Linked DNA regions of Homo sapiens: region 1 is linked to region 2. The links are contacts of gene promoters, found by promoter capture Hi-C in human tissues and cell types (Jung and others, 2019). All regions are on one chromosome and are shown on one strand. Each heading gives the region's core, a stretch centred on a gene start or on the middle of the fragment in contact. The rest is flanking DNA. Distances are from core to core; before and after follow the strand shown.

Region 1 (3,508 bases), core at 714-3,213, 49 kb before region 2:
GTGGGGTGCTGAGGGCAGGCAGAGGATGCTTCAGAAACACCTGTGTAGTAAGAGGGGAGGGTAATACTCATGCTCCCAGGACGGCTGAGGATTCAATGAGGCTGAAGCAATTCTGTTGAGATGAGCTGTCTTGTAGACAATTGAGGGTTTATTCTGAGAGAGCAGGTGGTGAAGGAGCTCTGGGTCTGAGTTCTCGTCCTGGCTGTGTGGCCCTGTACACGCCACCTCTCCCAGCGTCAGCCTCCTCACTTGTAATATGAAGGTAGCCATAAAACCTGGCCTGTTTCTCAGGGTTACCCCGAAGATGCAGTGAAGAAAGTCACGCTGCCATCCCTGGTAAGGGTGGGAACTGCTGCCTGGCTTCCAGGGCCCTGCAGTGTGCCTGGCTTGGTGCCCTGGCAGGGTCTGGTCAGCCTGCCCTTCCCGTGCGCCAGCAGTGAGCCCCGGGCTGCACTCCCTTGGCCGGCTGAGCTGCACCCCTTCTCTGTGCTATGACAGCACCACTTTATAAACCAGGCGCTCTCCTCGAAAGCTATGCCTGGGGCACATGTTTTTATCCTGCAGCCATAAAGTGGGATCAGGGAAGAATTTACAGTCAAGGCTATAAAGTAATAACAGGAAAGAGGCCATTTTGCTGGGTTCAGGTGGAGGTGAGCGAGGAGTTCAGAAGTTCAAGACCTCCAGGCATTTCCTGGGTGGCTGATAATCCTCCTGGTGCTGAACCCGGCTGCACCCCAGTCCTGGGGCTTCTCAGGGTCTGAGTGAAGGGGGCCATTGTTGATGGTTCTCAGCTTGGACTGATGGACACCTGTAGGCTTGAGTGGTGTCCCCAAGTGAGGGCACTGGGGGTAGGGTGCGCCTTTTTGGGCTCTCACTTCTATGCCACCTGGGGAGGAGGTTTTCCCGGGCTCCTGTCTCATTCTGGGAACATAAACGGAGGGGCGGAGTGTGGCCAGGGAAGTCAGCTAAGCTTGGCCATGTGGGGTTCCTCGGCCTGGGTTCATGTCCTGACTCACCACTGGCTCTGTGGCCTTGGGCAAGGCCCTCTACCTCTCTGAGCCTGTTTCCACACCTGTTCCTGGGGGAGGATAACACCTCCCATAACTGAGCTTATATCCTGGCACACAGTTGGTGGATAACAGAGGCGGCTCCCTGGTCTTCCTCTGTCATCCTCATGCTCTCTCCTGCTGGACTTTGCACCTTCCCAGCACTCAGAGACATGGACCCGATGGGGCTTCGGAGTCATCCTAGCCTGAGAGGGGCAGAGGTGGGAGCTCTGGCCTCTGGAGCCCAAAGCATTAGGTTCTAGTTCCTGTATGAACACTTCTTAGCTCTGTGATCTCAGGCAAGTTGCTTAACCTCTCTGAGTCCCAATTTCTACCTCCATGGAAGGCAGATTTTGTTGCCAATGTTCTGGGGCTGTTCCCTGGACACCCTGCTGTACCTGGTCACTGCGCCTGGTCCTAGGGGAGGCCTTCAATAAGTGCATTTACTGAGGGGAGAATGAGGCCTAGAGAGGTGGGAGGACTTTCCCAACGTCACCCAGCTGGGAGCTTGGTCTGAAGAAGGAAGGGGCTGTTGCATCTTCTAACTGGGATTTCTCAGGCTTTCAAGGATAGAATTGAGTGTCAATGGCAAGGCAGATTTTGTGGGGTGGTGAGAAAAATGGCCAGTCACAGCAACTTTGTATTCAAATCCTCTTTAACACCATCGGAGGCCAGCAATATTTTGGGATTATTGAGGGCCAATGATGGCCTGCGGGACAAATCCAACCCACTGACTGATTTTGTGAATAAAGTTTTATTAGAACACAGCCATGGCCATTCTCTGATGTGTTGTCTCTGGCTACTTTTGAGCTACAGCTGCAGAGTTAAGTAATTGCAACAGGGATCCTAAGACCCGTAAAGCTTAAAGTATTTACTATCTGGCCCTTCATAGAAAACATTTGTGCACTTCCCTAGCAGCTGTGGGATCTGGGGCTGGGATCTATGCTCGAATCCACTGTCCACCTTCCTTTTCTTTTTTCTTTTTTTGAGACGGAGTCTTGCTCTGTCGCCCAGGCTGGAGTGCAGTGCCATCTGGGCTCACTGCAAGCTCCGCCTCCCAGGTTCATGCCATTCTCCTGCCTCAGCCTCCCAAGTAACTGGGACTACAGGCGCCTGCCACCTCGCCTGGCTAATTTTTTGTATTTTGTTTAATAGAGACGGGGTATCACCGTGTTAGCCAGGATGGTCTCGATCTCCTGACCTCGTGATCCGCCCTCCTCGGCCTCCCAAAGTGCTGGCTAACAGGCGTGAGCCACCACGCCCAGCCACCACCTTCCTTTTCTAGAAGCCGAGGGGCAGCTGCCTGCTCACTGCCTCATTGTGTGGCAGACAGTGACCTGAAGCCACAGAACACCTAGATAGCTTCTAGCATCAGGTTACAGCCTGGCTAATTTGTACTGTCCTCTCCCAGGGTCACACCAGAGAGGAGAGGCAATGGTGGTGGGAATGTTCCGCGGGCCCCCACAGCTCTCCCTCCCATGCATGAAATGCTCTGCCGTTGAAGCGTCTTCCAATCCCCTTTGTGTTTCCTCAATTCTCATAGCAACTCTCCTAGGCATGTACTTGTCGGTAAGTGCTGAATGGATAACACAGGAGGGAATCCCAGTTGTGTATTTTAGAGGAATTGTTGAAAGTCCCATGGCTTCTCCATCAGGCTCAGAGCCTTCCCCGTGGTGCCACTGAGCACCAGCCATCCCTGTGGTTCCGCTGAGCACATCTTGGGTGGAGGCGGGCAGAGATCTGGACCCCAGCCTGTCTCTGATTCCTCACGTGGGGCTCTCTGCCTGAGATTCTTCCATTTGTTCTGTATGCCCAGCACACCACATTCGCTTTATACACTTACTGGTCGTGCACTGAAATGCAGAGTTTTACGGAACTCTTTAAAGACGCTTGAGTGAGCCACTTGAGAGCATGTGTCTTCCTGTTGTCAAAGATGTTGCACATCGAGGGCTGGCTGCGTGCACGTGGAGCTCCAGCTGGTGGATTCTCTCTTTCCTCCTTTCATGGTCACCAAACCCAGGAAGTTCCTCTTCCTAAAGGTTCCTTGGAGAGCTTCTGGATGCCTTTTCCAGAGAGCCTGGCTCAAGGTCAACAAAGGAGTCCAAGACACAGCTGGAGTGAGGATCCATTTCTTTGGACTCCAAATGTGGACCAAGCATTGTAATATGGGGGTGGAAGAAAGAGCAAAAATGAGGGAGCCAGGAGGAGCTGGCTTTGAATCCTGAATTTGTCATAGCTGTGTGATGTTGAGCCTGTTCTAAGATCCTCAGGACATCTCTTTCCCTATCTGTAAAATGAGGAAAGTGAGGGCTGCCTGATTCATTCAACGGATATGTCCTGGGGCTTCTTCCAGATGTCAGCAGCTGCCATATGAGTTAAATGAAATAATTCCCCCAAAGAGTCCAGGCTTAGCAAGTCCTCACTGGACAGCGTCTTTGATTCCTGTCCATGTTCTTGTCCTC
Region 2 (3,838 bases), core at 1,044-3,543:
TATAGGGAAACACACCAGGCTCCTTCCTGCCTGCAGACACACAGCCCTCCTGGTCTTCCTCATGCCTGCAGCTGAGTGCGACCCCTCATCAGCTCCCTCCATGGGAGACTTGCCTCGTTGGTGGGGATGTGGAGCTCTATTTATGGCAGGTAATGACATTAAGGGCTCCCTGAGCTTCCTTTCCAGCATTTTCTGGGATTAAAAGGGGTGAAAAGGGGAGAGAACTGAGAACCTCATGTGAGATATTCCAGGCTCAGTGACAGTCAGACTGACAAGGCCCTTGAGACATCGCCAGCTTCACCATTTCTTATTCCTTCACCCAGGTGTTTTGCTGAGAATAAACCTGAGGCTGCAGTGGACAGGGACTTTTCTGAGGTCACATAGCAGGCCAAGGTAGAGCTAAGACTCACATCCTGGGTTCCTGACTGTTAGCAGGTGTGTGCGTCCACACCAATGCCCCAGTGCGGCTTTCCTCCCTTCCTCAAGCCAGCTCTCGATCTACCTGGTCACTGTTATCTGGGGACATGCCTTGGGGTGGCCACTGGCTTGGGGAAGGTGATCAGGGTGGACAGACTTTTCCCAAGCCAAAGCTTCGGCCCCTGGGCAAAGCTTCAGCCCCTGGAAGTTGTGCAGACTGAACTTGGCTTATGAGGAGGAGACTGTGCTGGGCCCAGCAGGGATTTGGGGGAGTCAGAGCCAGGTCCTGATAGCGGGGCTTCTGTTTACCAGCTGTGTAACTTGGGGACATTATCCTCCTCTTCTCTTTCACAGATGAGTTTTCTTATCTGTCCAGTTATGATAATCATGCTTTTCTACTGAAATTAAAAGAGAATGCCTATGACATTGTCAATGCTGAATAAATGGTAACTAGCATTCTTAGCCGGGGCCTGGTTACAATAACAAGCCCCAGGTCCCTGCATTCTGCAACTAACTGAGCCTTGGTGTCTGAAGCTGAAAAGCACAGTTTTGGGTTAGATTGAAAGGTATATCAGGAAACCAGCCCAGAGCCAGGTCTTGCTCTGAATTTTAGAGTCCTCTATCCAGTTAATATGGACGGAGAAGCTTTTTCTCTGCCTGAGCCCAGCTGGGTCTTGGAGACCAGGAAACAGAAAGAAATGATCAGAAGACACTTACCCTGGGGCTGGTCCTTTGGAGGCTTTTCTAGCCCAGAGCCTGAGGCCGCAGCTTCTCCGGGGCCCTCTTCACCTGGCCCTTCTGGTCTGTCCATATCACTCCTCCTGGCAGGCCTCTTTAGGATCGCCTCAATGGAGAAGGACAGGCTCAGCTTCTTCGGGGCCTCACAGCACCCCAAGCTATTTCTCTCCATACCCCTGCAGAGAGCAGGGCCCACCTCAGCACACATTGAGGGGCTCAGGGGTGACTCTGTGTAGGCCAAGGAGGGTGCCAGTGGAGAGTGGCGTACTTCCTCCCCTGAACCTCCTGGGGTCAAGAGGGCGCGTGGAGGTGAAGAACAGAGAGCCTCCAGTTAGATGATCCAAACAGGATTTCGTGTCCACAGGGACTTCCATGGGCAGGTCACAGCAGAAGAGCTGGAAGGAGTGGTATCCTGTGCCCACGGCTCAGCCCTTACCAGTTTGACATCAAAGGAGTCACCATGGCTGAATTGGGGTTCAATCTTCCAGAGAAGGGTCTTCTCGGACACAGTTGCCTGCACAATCACCAGGTTAGGCCAGGATCCCTGAGGTCACCGCCCAGTGGCGAACAAAGAGAAGAGGGAGAAACAATAAGGCACAGGAAAGAGGAGGTCAGTCTCCAGAGGAGGTTTGGAGGCAGGGGTCCACCTTTGCCCTTTCTCTGGCTTCTGGCCCTTTCCTGTGGCTCTAGCCAGCCTTTAGGAGGAGGTTGGAGTGCCACCCTTGGCCTCAGGTGGCCAATTCAGTCCTGGGCTTTACTGCAGCTTGAGGGGTCTTCCCAGACACCCGTGTTTACTTCCTTCAGTTCTGCTGCTTCCAGACTCCAGAACGTACCTTCAGCGCATCAGTGCTCCTGCTGTCCTGCAGGTGGAGGCTGAGGAAAGGGGGTCCCTGGGTGCTGCCAGGCCTGTCTCTTCTCTGTGCCAGGGCTGGGCTGAGCTGTGGGTCTGATTCTTCTCAGGTGCCTCTGGGCTGGCCCTGGCTTTTTTTCTGTTCTATTTTCCCTGACGTCACTTTACATGCGAAGCCCTCTCTCCACAAGCGCCTGACCCAGGGTACCTCTCCCTTCCTTGTGGGGTCCTTTATGCTGTTTCTCCCAGTCTCCTGAGACAGACTGAAGAGGCCCTTTCTCTCTGACTGGGAGCTGACAGTTGTTGATCTGTCCTTGCCTGGAATTTTGCTCCAAATTACTGTGTAACCAAGGAGGAGGGGGCAGTAAAACAGGCTGATAAGAGAAAAACTCTCCACGCCCCTTAAGGCTGGGGATGCAGGTGTCAGGGTAGAAAAGTGGCAGGAGGCAGTGGGGATCTGAAGGACAGGTATTGGAGGCCCCAGGGAGGGGCTGTGCTGGGGAACTGGCCAGAGCAGGGGAAGGGAAGGTGGGAGCAGAATGGCCAGGAAGTGTACCCAGGCCCAATAAAACATGTTTACTCAGCCAGGAGAGCCTGTGGTCATGTGTGGGGGAGGCTGGGCTGAGGTGCAGTCTGCTGGCTGTCAGCCTTAGGCATTCATTTGCTCTCAGATGTGCTTTCCATGGCTTGCAAATATCAGATCAGGAAAAGCATTCCAGGGCTTTCTGATATGGGGAAACTGAGGTCCAGACCAAGGAGGTACAGAAAATGTGATGGCAGGGCCTGATCACAGTACTCCCCTGGGGATGTCCATGATGCCATGCTGGCCACAAGGAGCCAATTTGCACAGGAGGGATGGATACCCTGGCAGAGACTGTGAATGTAAATTTGGATGTTAGAATCTAGATCTTCTCATAGAGGGCAGGGGTGGGAGGTGAAGGATAGGGAACGTTGGTCTCCACTCCCTGAGAAGAGTGAGTCAGGAGAGAGAGGGACTCACCCTGAGAGAGGGAACAGGTAAAGATGCCCCATTTTAGGAGCTGTGCCCCTTGGAAGTGTCAGGCTGTCTGATTTAGTTAGGGGGGGAATAGGCTCTGCTGTAGTAGCAAGTAAACCCTATAGTCTTGGGAGCATAATAGCTCACCCACATCACATTCTAATGTAGTCATTTAGGGACCCAGATTCCTTTCAAACAGTGATGCCACCATTCTCCAATCATAGGCTCCAAGTTTTCTGGGGAAAGGGAGACAGCAAAGGAGAATTTTTTTTTTTTAATTTTAAGTTCTGGGATACATGTGCAGAATGTGCAGGTTTGTTACATAGGTATACATGTGCCTTGGTGCTTTGCTGTACCTATCACCCCATCATCTAGGTTTAAGTCCTGCGTGCATTAGGTATTTGTCCTAATGCTCTCCCTCCCCTTGCCCCCAACCCCTTGACTGGCCCCAGTGTGTATTTTCCCCCTCCCTGTGTCCATGTGTTCTCATTGTTCAACTCCCACCTATGAGTGAGAACATTCAGTATTTGGTTTTCTGTTGAAAGGAGAAATTTTGATGAGTCAGAAGTGGAAGTGGTTGATAGACCTTCTGCTCACATTCTGTGGCCAGAGGGAGTCACATGACCCTGCTTAGACCTATCCCTTTCCTAGGGCTGGACAGGGGAGTTTTCCTGCCAGGAGACAAATGAACCAGTTTGTTGACTTTTGCAGTGAAGAGGCCAGAGTCCCCTAGAAGTCAGGCCCACCATTGGTCCATGGAAGGGGTTGTTGGATGAGAGGACAAGGTTCCTTACACTCAGGGCAGAGGAAGCTCTGATGGGTACTTGAGATGCTTG

The links. Contacts are between HindIII fragments. The study calls those that stand out against the background at their distance.
Region 1: a contact is called between a fragment that was not itself captured here and the fragment with the promoter of ISX in region 2, in 1 of the 25 tissues and cell types used here (H1 embryonic stem cells).

Annotation. Positions count from the first base shown.
Region 1 is chr22:35,113,990-35,117,497 of GRCh38, reverse strand. No RefSeq gene overlaps it. Among named protein-coding and RNA genes, the nearest start is that of ISX, 50 kb to the right of the region's middle. The HindIII fragment of the contact is 3,876 bases long and covers 26-3,508 here.
Region 2 is chr22:35,064,613-35,068,450 of GRCh38, reverse strand. ISX (intestine specific homeobox) reads right to left here and starts at 2,293. Exons shown (of 5, transcript NM_001303508.2): 1 at 1,989-2,293; 2 at 1,135-1,699. The coding sequence starts at 1,363. The HindIII fragment of the contact is 5,369 bases long and covers 837-3,838 here.